Linked DNA regions of Homo sapiens: all the other regions are linked to region 5. Evidence: promoter capture Hi-C in 16 types of primary human blood cells and fetal thymus (Javierre and others, 2016). All regions are on one chromosome and are shown on one strand. The core of a region is centred on a gene start or on the middle of the fragment in contact, and the rest is flanking DNA. Distances in the headings are between cores, read along the strand shown.

Region 1 (3,367 bases), core at 677-3,176, 4.4 Mb before region 5:
GGAAGGAAGAATAGTTTTCTTCTCATGGACAAAAATGAAGAAAAAGAAGGTGGATGATAATAGAGATGTGAAGTAGAGGGCTAATCAGTTTTTCCTTTACTAAGAAGATTGCAGCCAGTCTTCTGCTGAGAGTGAAGAAGATGAAGGTGGGTGTGGCTTGAAGAGAGAAAATTTGGCAAAAGGTGAGTGACAGAATAGTCCTTGAGCAGTGTGTGTTAACACTATAGAGCTTATAATCTATCAGGAGAGACAGACATTAAATACCAAATATTTTCATTTACGATTAAAGAGTTTATTGAATAATCGTTGGAGCCAAGCAATCTTTGTGATACTAATTTATCATTTCTGCCTATATTTTTCCCTTTTCCATCAGAAGGCTGTGCTTCTTTGTCTCAAGGGAGATATATTATTTTACTCAAAATGGGGGGAAAAACTCGAAACTTTCCTCTGGGGTTTTATTTGTAAATACTTTAGTCTTTTGGGGAAAGTACAGTTTAAAAAGAATAGAAAAAGCTCAGAAGCAAATAAGGAGAGATCAATCTCTGGATTTTAGAGCAGTGACAAGAACCTTGCCCAGTTCCCTAGTGCATGTTGAGAATATCGCAGGACCTTGTAGAGAACCATCCAACACCAAGAATGTGGCTTCTAGGGCTAAGATAAAACCAAAAGTTGTGTAGGGGTTAACGTTGTCTCTGGAATGAGCATGGGAGGGGGAAGATAGCATTGTGCCTGAGAAGAGTTTCTCATGTGGATCTTATTACAGCTATTCTTTTATTTTGGACAACAACAACATGAACTGAATGTTCTTCACTATAAAAGCAGTAGATTTCATGTAACTAGTTCTAACCGTGTCTCTTGGTGGAAGCTGGAAGTATAAAACCACAATACAAGTCCCTGAAGGTAATTCTACCATTGCTAAGGGCACTGTAGGTTGGCCAACTCACCAGTCATAGCCAAGGTCTTTCTCCCTTGCCTGCCTCCACTATAGAGGCTATTCCAGCTCAGTTGGAATTAGGGATGAACTGGAAGTCTGCTGGGTGGCTTCTGAAAGGCTTTTGATACCTTGATGAAAAGCAGAAATGCTGCTGACAGCCTTATACCTCCTCACCTTGTCCTCAGGGACAAGGGAATGTTGGAGATGCTGGCCCTGACATTATTGACCCACAGAAGTCACTGGAGCAGTAACAGCAGTCATCTCCTTCTTGACTTTTCAGTATATGATTAAAATAAACATCTGTTAGATTAAGCTATTTTCTTTTGGGTTTTCTATTATTAGCAGCTGAAAGCATCTTAATTGACATAATTATCCATGTTTCCCAAACTCACATTCCTCATAATGTGGCAAAGATATGTGGCACTAAGAGTTCTGTGCCCAACTATGTTTTGGGAACACCATATTTAACAGTGTTAAACTTGCATTTTTACTGCAGGATTCTTTGGAGGCTTTAATTTACACAAGGAATCTTCAAATGAGGATTGTAATATGTAATGTATTTCATAATTACTTCAACCTTACTAACATCTTTTTAAATATTAAGCAAGGACACTTATTTGGAAAACAAGGTACTAGATGTTAAAGCAATGTGGTCCAATAATCTCCAAAGATCTGGCTTATCCCGGAATTGAATTCAAGTTATTTTGTGGGAACACATCAGTTCTTGTACTGGAGAAGGGCCTGGGAAGGGCAGGCTCTTAGAAATTATTGATCCAAGTAAGACCATTTCAGTAATCCTCTTTGTAGCACTGTAAGCTTCATACCTTTATTAGAAAGCAGCAGTAGGTTCCAATACAACATGCTCTGGTTCTCATGGGCCCTCAATATCTTGAAGCTTGAATTTCTTGATACAAAGTCATTGTCAAGGCCTTCTGCTGGGGACTCAGCTTGGCCATGCCTTGGCTTCCAGAACCAGGAGACTGCACTCTCATGCCTCCTTTAACTCTATCAATTTACCTCTTTTGCAATATTTTCCATACCTGAAAATACAGGTCTTTCCATATCTTCTGACTTATCTATCAAAGCTTTCTAGTGAGAATAGGGAAGTTCCAACATTTTCCCATATAATTTACACACACACACACACACACACACACACACACACTTTTCCATCTTTTTAGATGGAAATGTAACTTTTTCTTGCAGGAAACAAGCCAATCATCCAGCTTGTTGAAAAGTCCTTCCCTGTAAAACACATTACTAAAGGCCAGGTGCAGTGGCTCACCTGTAATCCCAGCACTTTGAGAGGCCAAGTCTGGTGGATCAGTTGAGTCCAGGAGTTCAAGACCAGCCTGGGCAACATGGTGAAACCACGTCTCTACAAAAAAATACAAAATTAGCTGGGTGTGGTGGCAGATGCCTGTAGTCCCAGTTACTTGTGGGACTTCGGTGGAAGGATCGCTTGAGCCCGGGAGGTCAAGGCTGACATGAGCTGAGGTCGTGCCACTGCTCTCCAGCCTGGGCGACAAAGTGAAACCCTGTCTCAAAAATAAAATAAAATAAAATAAAATATACTAAAGAAAATGTTCAAGAATGCCTCCAATGGATAGGGTGGGTGAAACTGTGGTTGGGTCAGATGAATTATCTCTCACGTTTAGGTCCTGTGCCAACCCTGTGCTATGATCAACTCCCAGAATAAGCAAAAAATGGATTATTTTATAATTAGTTGCTAGGATTCCACTCTCTGTGGTTTCACCACTGGAATTTAAATTTAGTGATGGCAATACCCCTTTGAAAGGCCAAAGGAAAGATATATGCTAATTATACTGATATTTCTAGCCAGATTGTAAAATGCAACTGGGTCACCAATTACAGACACAATTGCAAGTGGACAGTTGCTCCAGCTATACTGAATAACAAACAATGGCTGCAAAATATATGTGGGGAAAAGAATAAGAGGGAATTATTGAATTAACAAAACACAGATTCTCCGTGTTCTATAATGCATATCACAATCCTCCTTTACTCTCTCTCTATATATGTCGATAATCATGAATAAATCTATGAGACTTAATGATCTTTCCTCATTTCAGCCTGGATCATTTTATGACTAAATTTTGTCATTTTTAGAATTGAATTAATTGCCTGTATAGTCATAGAAAGTCAAATTTTATAGATAAATTATTGTAGTTTGTTTCTTCTTTTGAAAGCAGTCGTTAGCCCAATTTAATAAGAACGTGATTAGGTTTTAAATTGGGATTTGCACAAAAAGGCCTCTGAAATAAGTGAATATCTAAGTAATCACAAACTAAAGACCATAGAAAACAAGTTTAAAAGGAGAAAAAGACTTGGCCATTTATTTAGAGGCCTTTTTGGCTGCTTTAACCTGTGTGAACATCAACTACTTCTTTCTCTTACAAAGCAGCCGTAATC
Region 2 (3,405 bases), core at 97-2,596, 4.0 Mb before region 5:
AATTATAATAATTATAATCTCCTAAATGACACAGAAAAAATACCTTTCAAGTTTTAAAGTGCTCCCCTAGATATTATCTCACTTAGTCTTCCATTTAATTTGCTTTACTCAGTTGTCCAAAATACTACTACATTTTACAGTAACTCAAAGACACCAAGTCAAATGCTATAAGAATAAGATACATACTACAGTGAGAGAATCAAGCCAGAAGTAACAATAGGGAGTGATGGGTTCTTTGTAAATTGAAGTGAACATGATCTACTTACATGCCAAATATTTAGTAAAAATGAAACAAAACACACAAACTAATTCACCAGCAGTCACTTGTGATTCCCTGTAATCTAATTCTTTCTTAAACTGATTATCATATATTTTTTCTTTTAACTTTTATTTTAAGTTCAGGGGTACAAGTGCAGGTTTGTTACACAGGTCAACTTATGTCAGGGGGAGTTGTTGTACAGATTATTTCATCAGTTTCTTCTCTTATAAAATTATTTCAGAGGTAATAAGGTCGCTATCTCTGCATATACTGTGGAAAGTTAGCAAGAGGGTATCCTTAAATATGTAATTTTCTATATTTTAAAGCTTTAGCAATCATAAATGTATGTATAGAAAAGGTTATGTTTCAACATTATGAAATGTACAAGTATCACAACAGTAATCTTATAGAACATAAGTTAGATAACTGCACTTAGGTATCTTTCTTCGTTCTAAAATTTATTTGTATTCTTTTCCTGTTAACTAGTGGTCAACCAAAGAGATATCTAAACCTCTCAGAGGATATCAGACCACTCAAAAAGGTAACAGCTAGGTTTAGTTAACCCTTCTTAATACAAAAACAAGTTGAACAGCACTTAAATACTGTTCTCACTTCAATAACTCTTACTAGGCCCAGTTCTAAAGGAAACTGTTGCTATTCTTGATGGCTAGTAGAAATGGTGAAACAAAAACTTCATATTCACAGCCTTAAGATTCATTAACCTGTTTATTAAAAAAAAAAAAAGCAATGCCATATATTGCTGTAGATACTAAATCTGGAATTCTCAACCAAGAGTGCAGAAGAGAGGAGATATACACAACACACAAATATAATCCTGTCTCCCAAATTCTCTAGAAGGGAAATACTCAATACTTCAATTTTATATTTGGAAAAGAAAAATCCCCATTGTTTTCATAATTTGAAGTAAAAATAGTAAGAGTGAATTAAATACTCTTAGCTGGTGATAGACAGCTATCTACCTAACTAACTATTGATAGGTTATAGAGAGCAACTTTTAAAAAGGTTGGTAAGCATGGTACTAGGAATATGGGCTTGTGATCATATAATTAGAAGTGTCCCCAAAGAGAAGAAAAGGACTGGCATGACAGGTGAAAAGATAAATGCCCCCATGTATAAAGAGCTAAGTGTAAAACAGCGCACTGAGTGTATCTGCCTACTCCCGCTCAAAGATGCTGATGGCATACCACCTACAGGCATAATCATTACAACATATCTTATGCATTTCTCCTAAAGGCTAACCTGATATGCTACACAGATAAAAAAGACCACTCACTGCTACTGATATTGCAAATTTTAATCCAATGAGTTTTTTTTAAAGACTATTGAAAGCAAAGTTGACCTAATGATTCAATTTATTTAAAAAAATATTGCTATTAAAACTCTGAAAATGGAGAAAAAAATACTTCATCCTATAAGCAAATAAAACAATACAAATACTAGATTACTGTGCTATAGCTTGCTAATGAAGGACCCTTTCAGCTTAAATATTTTTATTTTAAATTTTTAAAAACATTAAAAACATTTCTTACATGGGGCAGTAGATGAAGAAGGGCGTCTCCACTCATTGTTCCTACAGCTAATGCAACAAGGAATGTAAGAAGGAATTTGAAGCATCCTTGGTTAATGATAGGAACCAAGATCACGCCTAGCAAGGAAAGCAGGCTAATGACAGTGATAGAAATGATACCACAAATCCAGGCTGTAGAAAAGAAATTAAGAGTCAACATTAGTATAACAATTTAAACCAACAGACTACCAAAAAGAATAAAAATATAAGATAAATGAATCGTAGAAGGTAGACTATTTTACCCAGATTATGAAAGCTTTAAGGCATTGTTTAAAAACAAAACAAAAATATGACATATAACTAACTTAAACATTTTTAAAAAGAATTAAGACACTCAGATCAAGTTATAAATAGTACCTTCAATGGCCCACGAGATAAGAACCAGTGACTTAAAATGACTGAAGGCTGTGATTCACTTAATAGCTAAACTATAAATAAAAATTTCCCAAGTCTAAAGGCAGAGCCACAACAATAAAGCTGTTTATTTAAAGAATATAATTATAAAACTCACCTGAGAACATTAAAAAAGCCAAGTATCTATTTAACGTGTTACAATCTTTGTAAATCTTTCTAATACAGAGTTTAAGAAATGTAACATAGCCCCAAATGGAAATATATTCATATGATGAGATAACAAAAAAGTCTTATTACTGGTAGCTTTATTGTTACAAAGGTTAGTTCAGTCCTATTTTTCTTGATTTTTTTTCTCCACACCTGGTTCCAAACTCCCATTCCTCCAATTTGGGTTTCTGTAACAATTTACCACTTAAAAAAAAGTCACTATATAATTTTAACTGGCTCAGAACACAAGAGAAATGTTTTCACAATATGACTTAAAGAAAAATAGGTATGGTGGGGAAGGGGAATTCTGTATACATGTCTTTATCTAGGTCATTCACAAACAGGTAAGACATCAGAAATATATGCCAGTGGTTTGGGGGCTGGACATTTTCATTACAATTTCTATTATTGGCCTAAAATGAAATAGAAATGTTATTAGTTTTTAAAATTCTGCTTATTTTAAGATCTATCTACAGAAAATCTCACTGAAGAGCAATAATTTTATAAAGATTTTAATCTAAAATACTATTTTTCAAATCAAATCTAAGAGGACTATAAATCTGCTGAAAGACTTTATATTAAGTCTGTGATATAATATTGAAAAAATACATCTCTTCATCAAAATAACTCAAAATTTTCAACAACAAGGAAAAGTAAAGATAGGGAGATGATACTAACTGTCCCACTAAAGGCTGAACTTTATCAATAAAACTGTTTTATCCAATGGGCGTTGTATTCACAATATCCAGTAATGTTAACACTATAGCCAATACTCATTAGCTCAATTATCTCACCGAATTAAAACAATAGATAATCTATCACTAATAGAAGCTCTGTGGCTTCCCCTGTATCTTAAAAGAGAATTCCTATCACATAAATATAGGTAACCTAAGAGGCAAAATAAGATTCAAACACAACCAGTATTAGAGGGCTGAGGATCTACCCACTAGATTTGGATTCAATGGCTTCAATCCTTGCAAGGATTTTGGATTAAGGA
Region 3 (3,010 bases), core at 199-2,698, 4.5 Mb before region 5:
TTTTATTAAAGGAAAATAAACCTACTTTCTCATTGATAACACTGTTTTTTAGTTTTATGGTGAACTGTTCGGAAGTAATTTTCAACAAGTGCTTATTTTATAAATATTAGACCGTGTACCCCTAGGATTGTGTATTTTTTAAGAAAACTGGTCCATAGAAGCGGTGCAAAAGTTTTAAACTCATCTGCCTCGGATCCTCCTCCTCTGAGCAGATGCTCAATTAAACTTTTTCTAGTATCTTAATAATTGGAGGTATTAATAGATGTTTTATTTTTGAGATACATATTGTACATTTTAGATCTTTTTTTTTTTCTAAAGTAGGGATCCAAAATTGAGGTGAAATATATTTGCTTACATGGCAAGACTTTTTAAAAGTAGAATTTCTGTAATTGAAGACCATCCTTTTTTGTGTGTGAATAGAATGGTTGCGGTTTCTCTTGGGATCATTGATTAGTGAATTACGATTTGGTTAAGATAGAATGCGTTTTTAGGAAGTTGGAGGTTTGACTAATCGCTGTGTTAGCATATGAGTAACAAATTTGAAGAAGATACAAGCATTTTTATGGCTGACGTTTCTAATCAGATAATTTTATTTTTAAGCTTGCTCTGTTTTACTTTTGTTAAGTGAACATTTTAACATGTTTTAAAGCTCTTTGATAATTATAAGGGAGAATTTCCTTATGAAAATATTTTTGCTTTAATTTTAGAGACACAAGAAGTCAAGGAATTCAGTTAATAACACTTTCACTTAATCGTTAAATTGCCTTAAAATTGCATGCATAGTATATTGTAATTCACATTTTCTGTATGTAAGATTGGCAGTTAAGAATAGTATTCTGGCCGGGCGCAGTGGCTCAAGCCTGTAATCCCAGCACTTTGGGAGGCCGAGGCGGGCGGATCATAAGGTCAGGCGTTCGAGACCAATATGGTGAAACCCCGTGTCTACTAAAAATACAAAAATTAGCCGGGCATTGTGGCGCGCGCCTGTAGTCCCAGCTACTCGGGAGGCTGAGGCAGAAGAGTTGCTTGACCCGGAAGGCCGAGGTTGCAGTGAGCCGAGATCACGCCACTGCACTCCAGCCTGGGCAACAGAGGGAGACTCCGTCTCAAAAAAAAAAAAAAAAAAAAAAAAAATAGTATTCCTAGGCTTACTACTTTTAAAGGATACTGATTGATTCTTCTTTTCATAAAGAAATCTTCTGCACTGTATGGGTATTTGTTTTGTCAGAAACATTAGCAGTCATTTATCTACTACCTTTCCACTTAGGAAAACTTCAAATGTCAGTTGCTTTAGTTTTTCATAATATTGATGACAAAATTCAGTGATTTTATGTTTAAGTACTGTAGTTTGTATTCTATGCTGGGCTGTTATCAAAGGCTATTTCTTTGAATATTTCAGTTAAGAAATGTTCTTATAAAGTTACAAGCATGTATTTTTATTTAAATATGTTGTAATGTTGCAATTTTCAGGGCATACTTTATTAAGTTTTTTATTATCCTTTTTCCAGAACATTTAACCTCAAACTTCAGTGCCATTTAAAACATATATATTAGTTTCTTTTAATATTTATATGCATTGTATTTTGGTTCATCCCTGACCCTTTGCAATTACTCCAAAAGAGGGTGTAGTGATACTGTAAGCATTGAAAAATTTTAACAGTGAGATGGTAATTTCCTCTTTAATCCTTAAAGGCAGATTCCATTTTGCATTGTAATAGTTACTGAATAAATAGTACTTAAGCGGTGCTATTAAGTAAACAATATTTTACAACAGAAACCCAATTTTCCGTCTTGTGAGTGACAAGCACCATGCATTTGTTGCCCACCCCGGAATCCCCCACTCTATTTCCGTTTTTCAACCTTTTATCCTGGTTCACAATTAACAGGTTTAACTCTTTTTCTGGAGGTGGGAAGACACAGCATTAGGCCTTAGGGTCTTGGCACAGAGTCAGGCCTAGGAGTCATTGCCTGACACTTCAGCCCTTGGATAGTATATACTAGAATGGTTGGATTAGAGTTAGTTTAGCTGACTTCCTATTGTGATTTTTAGAGGATTAAGTTTATGAATTATATTTTCTGTTCAAAATATTTTAAAAAACAAAACCTGTTGGCAGAATACATATGAGGAATATAATCTCTTCCTTGAAATTGAAAATCATCATCATTTCCATCTTGATACCAATACTTCTAATCAATGACTAATTAAAAACACATACTTCTGCCACACCAGGAGAAAGTTCTTCCTTTACTTTTGATGGACGTTAAATCTCTTTTTCAGTTTCCTAGGGAAAGCTTGCTAGCAGTAAATGCCTTAAATGCCTATGTAGAAAGGAGTTGCTTCCCTTAGAATCTTCGGGCTTACTTTGCTTCCTGTTGCCTTTCCAATGTACTTCATGATGATCTAGACTTATCAGTGATAAATCTTGATAGGACACTTACCTGAATCTCCTGATTTTTGGAGGCTCTTAAAAGAGTGATGTTCTTAACTGCAGTAGGTATTTGTATTAGTAGCTTATATTAAAAACAAGTAGCCACCTTGTCTGGAAACAGTGGTAAAAACAAAAGGTCTATTGGCATTACATTATAGTATATGACAAAATAATTTTATCTGTGTTTCCAGACTTTGTGGCTACCTGTTTAGAACTGACATTTTGTAAGTGCAATTTAAAATAGTTACTTTATTTGTCCAAATGCTGAATTAAGCAGAGACTAGCTGCATTCAGAGCTCCAGTACTGTAAATTCAAGATGGATCTCAAGTTCTCCTAACCCCTCGAAGACATGAGATATACCTACAAATTCTTTTTTCTATATCTCATAATTCTTACAATTCAGTTCATCAAACATTTTTAAAATTCCTACCGGGTGGCAGATACCATGCTGGTTGCTTAGGCACAAAAGTAAAAGGATGCTGCCCTTTAAACACTGAACAGAATTGCAATCTAACATGTTACATTTTGAGGTAAAGAAGTATGCCAAGGATCCTCTTATTTGAAGCATAAAGGAGAAGCC
Region 4 (3,388 bases), core at 21-2,520, 4.5 Mb before region 5:
TAAGGTGACTCTTATACCATGCCTCTATCAACATAATTTGTTTAGGAAAGCAGTATGAAGTTTAAGCCAAAATAATTTCTACTTTATAGATGCTCAAGAGACATTTTACAATTGAAAATGTCTTTCAATTACAAATATTTTGAAACTTCGTAAGATTTTCATTCTCTGTGGTCTGTTATATGAGAGAGATCCTTTAACTAGAGCAAAGAGGGAGTTAGAAACCTGATCAGGGATATTCTTTACAAGTTGGAGCAGAGGAAAGAGTAGCATGCCTTCGTATTTTAACGCAAATGTCTTTTTCCTCCTCCCAACCTACTTGAGATCTGATAAGGTCTGGAAGATGGAGATATTTGGTATGCAAGTGTAGAGTTTTTTAATCCTCCAGAATTTCTAGAGTAGAAGATACTTAGGTATAGTTAAATATTCTGTATTTTTAGTCAAACATATTTATTAATTGAATATAGAAGAAAATGTTGACACACTCAGACAGCTTACTGAATTTTAGATGTCTTCTGCATCTTAGAATACAAGCCAGTCATTCAGAGTTCTAAAAGTATGCATAAAAAATTACAGCACCGGTAGGTCTATTAACACAGTGCCCGAGTCAGCGGTAGCAAGACTGATGTGATCATAAAACATGACATCAGGCTCGTCTGAAGTTCTTGTGTGAAATTCCTAGTGAGTGAGGAGGCTCAGCTTAAAGCCATCTGCAGAGTGGCCCCTCATTGTGGTCTTTTGCTGGGACCAATGCAAGAGACTAGGGAGAGCAAAATGTTTGCTTATGGCTAGAGACTATATCCAGCCCTAATGATGGGGAAAGTTAGTCCTTTTCGGGTAATCTTTTATGAATTTTCACCTGATGACCGTTATATTGGTCTGTTATCATGTTACGATAACTGTGATCTCATGACCATGTTGCTGTATCAGAAGAAATAGTTTGACAAATGGTAACAACAACCTGATGTTCCCCCTTTAGACCTTTAACTTCTCAAAATTTTGGTAAGTTTCCAAATTCTTTAATAATAACTTAAAACTTTTTGAATAACTATCAGGTCACTTTATTTGACCACATGGTGAATTCCTTTAATGTCTTCAGCATTTGTTAAGGAAAAGTTTTCTCTACTTGTGTGTGTATGTGTGCACATGTGTGTATGTACAGGTGTATGTATATATCTATAGATAGATACAATACATTCTTTAGACACTTTTCAAGATTCTTTGCTGTGGTATATTGTGCTCAACTCAGGTGCCAAAGGAGCTTTTTTTTTTTTTTTTTTTTTTTGAGATGGAGTTTTGCTCTGTCTCTCAGGCTGGAGTGCAGTGGCATGATCTCAGCTCACGGCAACCTCTGCCTCCCGGGTTCAAGCAATTCTCCTGTCTCAGCCTCCTGAGTAGTTGGGATTACAGGCGCATGCCACCGTGCCCAGCTAATTTTTGTATTTTTAGTAGAGACGGGGTTTCACCATGTTGGCCAGGCTGGTCACAAACTCCTGACTTCAAGTGATCCACCCGCCTCGGCCTCCCAAAGTGCTGGGATTACAGGCGTGAGCCACTGCGCCCCCGCCCAGGAGCTCTTTTCTTATGACATATAAATTATGACATTTATATTCTTTATATGACTTTATGTTCTCTTCTTATGACATTTAAATTCTTTAAGTAGTTTGTTGGTCCAATAAACTAGACGTTGTATAATCTAAATTGAGCCCTTGTATATCTAAAACTGATGAGTTGTTTCTAAATTGTTGATTGTCCATTTACTTGCCTTTGGTATTAAGATAATGCAAGTAAAGTTTAGTAAGTCATTGGATAATGAAATGATTATGTTTCTGAAGACCATATTATATTTTTAATTTTTAGAGGAATCATGCCATCCCCCAAAAAATCAAGAAATATTTGAATTTTAAATTATAAGTTCATTTGTTAAAAGACATTTTTACAAATGTCTGAAAATCTTAAAATACTTTACATCTACCTTTAAGTAGTAGAATACAGAGCTGTAAATTTCCATGCCTTTTTTCCTGATATTAAGTTTTATAGTAAAAAAGCAACTAGTGATTGCACAAAGAATATAAAAATCCACTCTTTTTACAAAGGTGTGAATTTAAATAACGTTATTGATTGGAATATGAAAATAGACCAATCATTTAAGAGCTTTTTAGCAAATGATTCAATTCTTACTCTTTTTCTCCCAAGATTGAAAAGCATAATGTATTTCTCTAAAGTAGGAATCTAGAGAGCCCCTGTGAGTGGACAAATGTCAGTAACACTTGAACACATGAGAAGATAAGTGTTATGTTGTGATAATTTAAAGTTAAATTTGCTTTTTGGGTAGGATCCCTAAATAGATGGGATTTTTAAATAGATGATATATAGATGACAATTGCAATTGTCATTTTAATTATTTTCCCTACAGTAAAGAACCTAGCTCTGAGCAGTGAAATTGTAATGGCACTTTAAAGGAAGTAAGCCGTTAACTGTTCTCTAGTGGAGCGATCTCCAACTGTTTTGGCACTAGGGACGGGTTTTGTGGAAGAAAATTTTTCCACAGGACTGGGGGTTTAGGGGGATGGTTTCAGGATGATTCAAGTACATTACATTTATCATTAGATTCTCATAAGGAGCATGCAACCTAGATCTCTTGCACGTGTGGTTCACAGCAGGATTCGAGCTCCTTTGAGAATCTAATGCCATGGCTGATCTAACAGGAAACTGAGCTCAGGCAGTAATGCTTGGCACCGCCCCCCACCTTCTATGCAGCCCGGTCGTGGCCTGGGGACTGGGGACCCCTGCTCTAGTCAGTAATAAGGTACTTGTGCCAGAATATAAATCAACACATTGCTTCCTTTATCAAAGAAGTCTTGTTATTTAAAAAAAGTCAACTGAGCCAGTATGATTAGTGATGTAATTGATTTTCATTCTGGCACAAGCCTCTTTCATTCTGGACAGCTCACAAATAGTTAATGGACCATGCTTTGAATAGCCTTCCTCTAAGCAACATTTATAAATACTGATATTTTAGAACTGTTTACATTTCTTCTGTTTATTTTTGAATTTTCAGTTTGATATCTTGTCCTTATTCATTGTTGTATAAACAACTGTACTTTAATTTCAAGTAGTATTAAAAGTATTTCACTTCAGTTTGGGGGGATTATTATCAATTTATAATTTTATAAAAGTATTTTAAAGAATAATTGTAAATTTTCCATAAATTACAACTTCCTGCCATATTTTATTAAATAATAATCTTGCTTAAGGCATATAGACAGACATTATTATGAGTATTCCAGTAAAAAAAATCTACATCAACTTGACCATTCTGGCTAAAAATTAAAAAGCACTTTTTTATATCTGTGGTTGTCATTTGTTTCAAAGCATTTCTAAATTTATT
Region 5 (2,928 bases), core at 415-2,914:
GAAGGGGTGGGAAACAACTGAGTGGCAACTACACTAGAGAAAACAACTTATAAAAAAGAAAAAATATGGACTATACCAGTCTCCTAAAAAGACTCACTGACTCAGAATAGAACTAAAAATCTATGCCGGGCGTGGTGGCTCACGCCTGTAATCCCAGCACTTTGGGAGGTTGGGGCGCGCGGATCACTTGAGGTCAGGAGTTGGAGACCAGCCTGGGCAACACTCTGAAACCCCGTCTCTGCTAAAAATACAAAACTTAGCTGGGCGTGGTGGCACACGCCTGTAGTCCCAGCTACTTGGGAGGCTGAGGCACGAGAATCTCTTGAACCCGCGAGGCGGAGGCTGCAGTGAGGAGAGATCACGCCACTGCACTCCAGCTTGGCGACAGAGCGAGACTCGGTCCCAAAAAATAATAATAATTAAAAATCTACTTAACCTGTAAACCGGGGTAGAGGCGCGGATTTCCCAGCTGAAACCGACTGCCTTTCACTGCAAAGGTCTGTTACATCCCAGCGCTGCCCACCACCCAAAGTTAACACCAAAGGAGTTCAAAACTCCTCAAGAGTGGCCCACAGAAAAGGCGGGGGACTTCAGGGCTTGCCAAGATCCCAGGAGCCGGCCAATCCCGATTCTGCAGACTGTTAGGTCCCCCGACTTTTTTGCACACCTACCCTCTGGTCAACCGAATAATATCCCCTGGCTGTATAAGACCTCCGATCTCATCCCACACGGAAATAGTGATGCTGCCCGTTTTATCTGCTACTTTGCACGATCTCACTTCATGGCCGTCTTTGGTTTTGGTCACGCGTCCTGTGAGGATTTAAAAATCAAAGGGAGGGGTTGTTAGATAATGAGGACATCCAGAAAGGCTAACTCCTCCTCCGGTATTTTAATACATCTGGAAGGTGGGAAGTGACCAAGCCCAGGGCTCCCGCCTCAGGTAGGATCCGATCTCGGGCGGAGGCCACTAGAGCCACGTGGGTGGGGGAGGGGAGGGAGGAGGAGGGGAGCCCCGGGCGCGCAGCGGCCGGCGCCCCTGTCTCCCGCCCCGGGAGGCACAGCGGGCGGTGGAGTAGGCTGCAAACCCCACTTACCTATCTCCAGGACAATAAAGACGACATTTAAGTTTTTCAGTCCGGGCTTAATATCTCTTATAAAAATAAGTGGGTCGTTGACCCTATTCATATTGGGACAGGCGCGGCTACGGCTGCGGAGACGCGAGTGGGCAGGGCGGGGTCAAAGCTTCCCACCCTCCCGGGACAGGGGCGAAGGCAGAGGGGCGACCTTGGGCAGGGGTGGCGAGAGAAGGGGCAGAAAGCCGTTAGTCAGGGACCGGGCAAACCAGCCCGGACAGCACTGAGCCTAAAAAAAGAAAAAAAAAAAAAAAAAAAAAAAAGGCTCACAAGTTCTAAAGAAAAAAAGGCGAACCACTCCGCACACCAACCCCGCTCCCAACCGGGCGACAGGAAGGCAAGCGTACTAACTGCCCCGTTCTTTGGATAAAAGGAAAAAAAAACGCAGTGAGGGGACACTTCTGCCCTGAGTCCCGCTCACTCACACGGGCGCGCGCCCAGCCTGTCCCGGGCTCCGGGAAGGAACGGGCTGTGACAGCGAAACGGGAGCGGAGACAGAACACCGCACACCCAGCGTCCCAAACAGCGACTGATGAACACGCCCGCGCGCCGGCAGGACCCTCGGCCCGCCCCTCCCCTTGTGAAGTCACGCTGCGTCGGCACGCCTGCTGCCACGCCCGCCTGGTGCTGGGGAGGGGAAGCAAAGGGGCGGGACCCGGCCGCCGCAGCCCGCAGAGCTTCCCTCGCTCCTCCCCGGGGGCTGTCAGCGCGGGCTCCGCCCCCTCGTCCTTCCAATCGCTCTCGGCCCCGCCTCCCCCGCCCTCCCGTTCTCCACCCACTTCAGCTGTCGCCGCGCAGCAGCAGTTCTGTTCGGTTTCGCCTTCCTGCTGTGCAGTCTTTTGACGCTTGCTGTCCAACTTTGGAGTTTTCTTGCCTTTTTTTCTCTCAGAGTTGAGCCCCTGCCCGGGCCCTTTAGTCCCTCGGTCACGAGGAACGGTAGAGTTTAGAACCTGTGAGTACGTTAGAAAGTTCGCAGTCGAGGAAGAACAGGGTTCGGGCAAGGGCAGCTGGTCCGGTACCAAGGGAAAACAGGCTGGGATGGTGAAGGCGTCAGTGGCTACAAGGCTGGAAGTTTAGCACCAGAAGGGAATTTGGAGATCAATTCAACCGCCTCATTTCAGGCATACTTAAATTGAAACCCAGAAAGATGAGGTAATTTGCAGAAGGTCACCCAGCAACCCCTGAGCAGGCAGGACTGCAACACAAATGTCTGACGTGGGCTTCCACTGTGTAATGCTAAGCAGATAGGACGTAAATTCCTTTGCAGACTTCTCATTTTTCCTTACCCCCTGCCTCTCATATTACACACCTTCCCCATTTAGCTTTTCTTCTTTTACTTTGCACTTGCTTTTGTACATCTAAAAGGAATTAATTATTCAACAGCAGTGGGAACCCTTGAAACATAATCTGGAAAAAAAGATTAATAAAGTTTTTTTTATGTCGCGTAGTGAAAAGAGCATGTGCTTTAGAGACAAACCTGGGCTCCAGCTATTTACTTGTGAGAGCTTTAGGTCAATTGGCTTTTATTACAGCTTTTTAACCATAATAAAATGGGGATCCCTGCCTAGCAGAAGATTGATTAAATGGATCATAAATTGTCCAACTAGTGCCTAGCAAATAGTACATACTCAGTATTTTCCCCTTTTTAATCCCCGTTTTACAGGCGATGGAACTCACCAGAGACCAGATAGCTAGAGAATGGCTGAGCTGGGTTTTAAATCTAGTCAATCTTGACCCCAGAGCTCTCCAGCCTAAAGGTAATGTTTAGACTTAACTTCCAGTGGTGTCATTATAA
Region 6 (3,201 bases), core at 636-3,135, 4.4 Mb before region 5:
TGAATAGACAGTTCTCAAAAGAAGAGATACAGCCAATAAACATGTGAAAAAATGCTCCACATCCCTAACCATCAGGGAAATGCAAATTAAAACCACAATGAGATACCACCTTACTCCTACAAGAATGGCCATAATTAAAAAGTCAAAAAACAATAGATGTTGGTGTGGATGTGGTGAAAAGGGAACAGTTTTACACTGCTTGTGGGAATGTAAATTAGTACAACCATTATGGAAAACAGTATGGAGATTCCTTAAAGAGCTAAAAGTAGAGCTGTTAGGTAGTTAGGTAGACATTAGCAGCTCGGAGGGGGTGAGAGAAGAAAGCAGAAGGGCTGTCACTAAGACAGGCCCTGGCCCACCTAAATTCAGCCCCCAAATCACCATAGCTCCACCCTAATGGACAGAATTTGTGATAAAGTCTGTGGCCAGCACATCCTGGGGAAAGAAAAACTGGGGCACAGATAAAAATTTCCTAATGTGACACATGCCCCGTCCATCTAGGCCAGGGGTTTTCCAAGCTTTTGGCTTCCCTGGGCCACATTGAAAGAATCATCTTGGGCCATGCATAAAATACACTAACACTAACAATAGCTGATGAGCAAAAAAAAAGAAAAAAGAGAAAAATTGCAAAAAATCTCATAATGTTTTAATAAAGCTTACAAATTTGTGTTGGGCCACATTCAAAGCTGTCCTGGGCCACATTTGGACAAGCTTGATCTAGGCCATAACCCTGGGGAACCCCATCCTTATTATACAGTCATTATAGTAAAATTTACTTGTGGTTTTGCCCCTCTGAGTGGGCTTTTCTTAACGAAAGATCGGTAAAAACATGCTCAGTTTAACTTCAGCTATGTAACTATAAACTGCCAATCAAATGACATCATCCTGTCACTCAAACACAGCCCAGGCCTCAACTCCTCCCATAAAAGCATCCTGAGCTCTGCAAAGAGTGGCTGATTTCACTTCGTAGAAGTTGGCCCACTCTCCCTTTGAGAGTGTATTACTGTGCCTTAATGAACTTTGCTTTGAGCTTGCACTTTGCTGTTAGTTTGCATTTCTTTGCTCACTATCACAAGAACTGAGATTGCTGGTCCAGAGCTCCAGCTCTGTTGATCTCGGTTAAAGGATCCATCCCAAGGCAGCATCCCTGGTAACAGAACTACCATTCCATCTAGCAATCCCACTACTGGGTATCTACCCAAAGGAAAAAAAGTCATTATATAAAAAAGACACATGCACACCCATGTTTATAGCAGTACAATTCACAGTTGCAATAATATGGAACCAACATAAGTACCTATCAACCAATGAGTGGATAAAGAAGATGTGGTATATATACACCATGAGTGCTACTCAGCCATAAAAAAGGAATAAAATAATGTCTTTTGCAGCAACTTGGATGGGTCTGGAGGCCATTATTCTAAGTGAAGTAACTCAGGAATGGAAAACCAAATACTGTATGTTGTCACTTATAAGTGGGACCTGAGCTATGAGGACACAAAGGCATAAGAATGATATAATGGACTTTGGGGACTCAAGGTGGGAGGGGGTGAAGGATAAAAGACTACATATTGGGTACAGTGTACATTTCTTAGGTGACAGGTGTACTAAAATCTCAGAAATCACCACTAAAAAAAACTGAATTTTAAATTTAATTTCCTTCCTTCCTTCCCTTCTTTCCACTTCCTTTCCCCCTCCCCCTTTCCCTCCCTTCTCCCCTCGCCTCCCTTCCTCTCTCCTTTCCTTTCCTTTTTTTGACAGTCTTGCTCTGTTGCACAGGCTGGAGTACACTGAGGCGACCTCGGCTCACTGCAAACTCTGCCTCCTGGATTCAAGCGATTCTCATGCCTCAGCCTCCCAAGTAGCTGGGATTTACAGGCTTACACCATGACACTCAGCTAATTTTTGCAGCATGTTGGCCAGGCTGGTCTGGAACTCCTGACCTCAGGTGATCCACTGGTCAAGGCCTCCCAAAGTGCTGGGATTACAGGCATGAGCCAACACACCCAGATGAGTTTTAAATTTTCTTTCACCTTCCAACATGTCTTTCTGCTTCCTGGCCTTCCTCATTTTAAGGCACAACCATCCACCAAGAGGTTCAGGCAAAAAAAAATAACCCTAGGAGTAATTTTACCTTATCATCATCCCTTACATCTATTCTAGCAAGTCCTAGCAGATTTTCTTCCAAAATATATCCCTGATTTGTCCTCTTCTCTCCATCTTTCTAATTTTGCCTCCTTCTAGTTTAAGCCACCATTGGTATTTCCCGGGCCTATTCCAGTAGGCTCCTAATTGGCTTTCCTCCTACCCCTCTTGCCCTGTTTGCGTTTATGATTTCTCCATGTAATTAAAATAACATCCTTCCTCACTATGGTCCTGGCCTTCTTCAGGCCTTTGGACATTTCAAACTCATTCCCCTACTTGGACCTGTGATCTAGCTGCTCTTTACTTCCTGGGAAACTCATTTCCAAAGTATTTGAATGGCTGGCTCATTTTGGTCATTCAGATCCCAGCTCAAATGTCTCCTGGAAGATGTGTTCATTGATGACAGTCTCTCCCATTACCTTGTTTCATTTTCTTTTTGGACTTTTTACCAACTCAAATTATTCATTTATTAATTTACTTATTTTTTTCTCACTAATTTTCCATTTCTCTTTCCTAGAACAGAAACTGGGATCTTGGCTGCTCTCTGTATCTCTCATGCCTAGAATGGTGTCTGGCCTACTGCAGGTAGGAAATATTTGTTGACTGAGCAAGATGAGGATAATGAGTACAAGTATCAGTTCACAAAGAGAGAAGCATGGCAAAACAACAACAACAAACCAGATTCTGGACTCTGTTTTAAGTTGTACATTTGATTTTCCCAATCTTATACTCCATCCTAAGGTAACAAAAAAGCTGCCACACTGCCTCAAAGGAGGATGTAAAATAAGCTCTAGCACTCCTTGCTTCCTTCCACACATGCTACAGTTTCAAAAGCAGGAGGTAAAAAAAAAAAAAAAAAAGTAGTAACAAATAACAACATAAAAAGTCAGAACTCAGCAGCTGCATAAGCTTACACAATATATTTTAAGGGAAAAAAAAAACATAGTCTTGTAAAAAATTCCCTTAGAATCAGCACAAGTTTGGGCATAAAATTCCTAAGCAAACATTTGGTTCATGTCTAATAAAATCATTTTAGCAAAAAACATCCAAACCATA
Region 7 (3,322 bases), core at 80-2,579, 4.4 Mb before region 5:
TCATAAGGAAGGAAAAAATTCTCACAACAAGCCAAATGTGCATCTTTTCAGATAGGAGCCCTTCATATTCACTGGAATTTCTTAAAAAGTAACTTTCCACATATTTCCCCCAAAATAACCTATTTCACTAAGAGTAAAGCACGTGGCACCTAATTTATCTTCCCTGAACAGAGTAGAGCTGAGTCACTGACACAGAACTGAAACCTTCGCACCCAAGCAGGCTCAAGGGACTGAGCCAGAACTGATTCTCAGATAGCTCAACCCTCCCTCCCTCTCCCACAATAAAGGTTCATATCAAAATCACACTCTGAACATCTGACTCATATCTTGTGATTATTGAACATACTCCTCCTGTACCAATGTTCCTGTGGACATTTGACCATTTCCATGTTCATTTCTTAGGGAAAACAGGATTGTTTAGCTGGAGGTTGAATCAAATAGATATACATATTGAAACCAAGTGTCCTCTCTTGCTGTCTGAACATCCAAACAAAGCTAGGAGCAGCCCCCTTACCATTAATCAAGGACCAGATAAACAGCTATCTGCTGAAGAGGACTTCTGCAGCAATGGCTTAGCCCTCACCTCTGGCACAAGGAAGGATGGATGGGTGGGCTGCAATTAGTTGGCATGTTCAAAATAAGAGACAAGTGGCAGGGAACACCTCTTGGTTTGACTTCAGCTTGCATCACTGTGGCTCTTGACTGCCATTTCTACTTTTCCTGTGTAGATCGAAAGCTCTAATCCTTACCCCTAGTAAGTGCAATAGTGCCCTTTGTACAGTTGGAGACCTCCACCTCCTAGTTTGAGCCAGAATGTGTTCTGTGCGTAAATACATTACATGGAGTCCAAGAGATTTCTTTCTTTCTTAATTTACACATAATAATTGTACATATTCATGGGGTATGTAAGGATGTTTTGATACATATAATGTATGATGATTAGATCAGGGTAATTAGCATATCCATTATCTCAAACATTTATCATTTCTTTGTGTTGGGAACATTCAATATCCTTCCTTCTAGCTATTTGAAACTACATATTGTTAACTGTAGTAGTCCTACAGTGGTATAGAACACTAGAAACGTATTCCTCCTCCCTTGCTCTGATTCTGTAACCCTTAACAAATCTCTCCCTAAAGGTTTCTGTTAACTCCTAATAAATGATCGCGTGGGTTGGCAGAGTCAAGAATGAGGTTAAATGGAGAATTCTTGGCCTGAGGACTATGAATTCCTTTTTTTTTTTTTTTTTTTTTTTTGGCCCATTTGGTTCCACGTGTGCCTCCAGATCTCTGGTGCTGTGGAGCAGTGACTGTGCTGTGTGCTGCACACCTCACTCTCTTGCCGCTTTCCCTGGTCTCCATCAGGACTTTACCAAAACACTCAAGTGCTGTGGCATCTGAGAATGTCCCTCTATGCACTGTCTGTCCATATAGTGAGATAAGGGAGGTGCTGGAAACAATTGTTCTCTTCCTCTATGATTCCTGCAAGTATTGTTTTGCAATTGTGCTGCCCGCCTTGAAAATCACATGGTGCCCCACTGGCAGCTTTATGATCATTTCTCTAAATGAAAGTGAGAGGTTATCGAATTTGTCTAGTTTAGTGTGAGTCACTTATATGCCTGGGAAATGAAGTCCTATCCTGTGTTATTGATACTGGAAGCTGCACAAAAGGAATGAGTCTCTGGAGTTTGGAACTCACCTCATGAATCTCACACCAACCAGTGCTGTCCTGGCTTTTCATTGGGATGGAATGAGAATCAAGTCCCCATGGTGGAGGTTATCGTGAAAACCCCAGATTTTAATAGAGAGGTAATTTGAGTACATAACATATTGAACTTGAATATTATGCACTTGAAGGAAAAATATTTCCTTTGTAGTGGGCAGCCTCTATTATGTTTTGGAGGAATTTTCCAGTAAATCATCTAACAGCTGCTTTACTGTATAGGCCTTGAAATTTTATCTGTTCATTGGTTACAGACACTTTTGCTTTTGGAAACTTCACATGCTTCTCTTTACCAGTAATATTTTGTTCCCAAAATATCGGCTCCTGGGGAGGATTTAATAAAGGCTGACCCAACAAGACATGTTTTTGAGCAAACCTTTTGGATGTCTTTGGCTAGGAACCATGTCCTATGTAAGTGTATTCTATGTAAGATTATTACTAAAAATCCAAAAAGCAACCTACAGATTTTGTGACAAAAAGAAAATGTTAACCATCTCTGAACATAAAGGCATTTTGCATCTGTGAATGTAGAAACAGTGATTATAGTGGGTGCTAGTAGAGGTATAGAATGTATGTGTGTGTTTTGGAGGAGTGGCAAGGAAGAAACAATGGGACAAGCATTGGCAAAAATATGGCTGGTGGAGATTCTTTCCTTCAGACTGCAGATTGAAGACACCCTTCACAGACAGGAGCCACTGAATAAACACCTCTGAAGAAGATAGAAAGAGAATAGCTTGCTAATGCCGTGCTAACTGAAGTGAGCCTGCAATTCTCAAAATATGATCCATTTGAGGGTTACCTGGAAGATGCTTATTCCAGAATAGAGGCATGATGTGTTGATTTTTGGAAGGGGCTCCTGGCCAACAGCAATTGAAAAACTGAAAAAAATGGAGGCTGAAAACTCACCAACCATGACTTCAGTTCATGGGGCACAGTCATTATCTATGCCCTTTAAGAAAGAAAGATTCCACATGGACAGTGTGTGAAGACAGTGGAGAGGGTGAAGGAAGAGCAGAAAGGTTTGCTCTAAGAGGCCCATCTGACACTGGTCACAGGTCAGTATAAGGCAGAAGAGAGGAGGGCAGGAGGCTTAGCTTGGAGTTGGTAAATGAAAGAGTTTTCAAGGAGATTTTCCAGTCATAAATTAGAGAGAACAAGAGCAGAAGAGGGGGCTATTTATGGAAATATTTGCAATAGGTGAATAGTTTGCAAATTATTGGGGAACCTGCATTTCTTTTTGTCTCATCTATTTATTTTAAGTCAGAATAATCCCTTATTTTAAAAATTATATGTATTGGCATATTAAAAGATTAATAAGTAAAATAGTTCTTTCCCTCTTAGGTTCTGTAGCACTCAAACCAATGGAGACAAAAATATCAGTTTGATTACTGAGAACAATTATATTGCAGGGTATGACTATGTAAGTGGTCAAATAGACATGCTAATACTCCACTTCCTCAATCTTTGCCTTGATTCAGCCCAATCAAGGTAAGTTTGGGGTACTTTTACCCATGATTCTTGTGTCACATTAATTTGGGACATGGAGAGAAGAAAAGAGAAATTCCTAGTAATTACAGGTTTAAAAAGTTTTAAATAGATA

What was found. The method cuts DNA at HindIII sites, captures the fragments that hold promoters and counts their contacts. A CHiCAGO score of 5 or more calls a contact.
Region 1: a fragment that was not itself captured here is called in contact with the fragment with the promoter of NABP1 in region 5 in 4 of 17 cell types (total B cells, naive B cells, non-activated CD4 T cells and 1 more); the score reaches 10.3 in total B cells.
Region 2: a contact is called between a fragment that was not itself captured here and the fragment with the promoter of NABP1 in region 5, in 1 of 17 cell types (total B cells). The highest score is 5.7, in total B cells.
Region 3: a fragment that was not itself captured here is called in contact with the fragment with the promoter of NABP1 in region 5 in 14 of 17 cell types (fetal thymus, total B cells, total CD8 T cells and 11 more); the score reaches 25.0 in fetal thymus.
Region 4: a contact is called between a fragment that was not itself captured here and the fragment with the promoter of NABP1 in region 5, in 8 of 17 cell types (non-activated CD4 T cells, fetal thymus, total B cells and 5 more). The highest score is 17.0, in non-activated CD4 T cells.
Region 6: a contact is called between a fragment that was not itself captured here and the fragment with the promoter of NABP1 in region 5, in 7 of 17 cell types (naive B cells, total CD4 T cells, total B cells and 4 more). The highest score is 15.0, in naive B cells.
Region 7: a fragment that was not itself captured here is called in contact with the fragment with the promoter of NABP1 in region 5 in 3 of 17 cell types (naive B cells, M2 macrophages and total B cells); the score reaches 10.6 in naive B cells.

Annotation. Positions count from the first base shown.
Region 1 is chr2:196,117,412-196,120,778 of GRCh38, reverse strand. No RefSeq gene overlaps it. Among named protein-coding and RNA genes, the nearest start is that of DNAH7, 50 kb to the right of the region's middle. The HindIII fragment of the contact is 190 bases long and covers 1,832-2,021 here.
Region 2 is chr2:195,705,190-195,708,594 of GRCh38, reverse strand. It overlaps SLC39A10 (solute carrier family 39 member 10), which reads right to left. Exons shown (of 10, transcript NM_020342.3): 4 at 1,810-1,979. Among named protein-coding and RNA genes, the nearest start is that of SLC39A10, 50 kb to the right of the region's middle. The HindIII fragment of the contact is 1,518 bases long and covers 588-2,105 here.
Region 3 is chr2:196,167,193-196,170,202 of GRCh38, reverse strand. The region is part of intron 1 of STK17B (serine/threonine kinase 17b); the gene reads left to right. Among named protein-coding and RNA genes, the nearest start is that of STK17B, 2.9 kb to the left of the region's middle. RefSeq lists an enhancer at 2,973-3,010. The HindIII fragment of the contact is 1,692 bases long and covers 603-2,294 here.
Region 4 is chr2:196,133,672-196,137,059 of GRCh38, reverse strand. It overlaps STK17B (serine/threonine kinase 17b), which reads left to right. Exons shown (of 8, transcript NM_004226.4): 8 at 1-3,388. Among named protein-coding and RNA genes, the nearest start is that of STK17B, 36 kb to the left of the region's middle. The HindIII fragment of the contact is 5,241 bases long and covers 1-3,388 here.
Region 5 is chr2:191,676,872-191,679,799 of GRCh38, reverse strand. It overlaps NABP1 (nucleic acid binding protein 1), which reads right to left and starts at 1,664. Exons shown (of 6, transcript NM_001031716.5): 1 at 1,095-1,664; 2 at 672-810. The coding sequence starts at 1,185. RefSeq lists enhancers at 1-493, 1,321-1,823, 2,033-2,112 and silencers at 963-1,022, 1,623-1,972. The HindIII fragment of the contact is 1,958 bases long and covers 1,245-2,928 here.
Region 6 is chr2:196,074,667-196,077,867 of GRCh38, reverse strand. No RefSeq gene overlaps it. Among named protein-coding and RNA genes, the nearest start is that of DNAH7, 7.4 kb to the right of the region's middle. The HindIII fragment of the contact is 2,343 bases long and covers 714-3,056 here.
Region 7 is chr2:196,098,326-196,101,647 of GRCh38, reverse strand. No RefSeq gene overlaps it. Among named protein-coding and RNA genes, the nearest start is that of DNAH7, 31 kb to the right of the region's middle. RefSeq lists enhancers at 56-155, 426-575, 596-685. The HindIII fragment of the contact is 5,493 bases long and covers 1-3,322 here.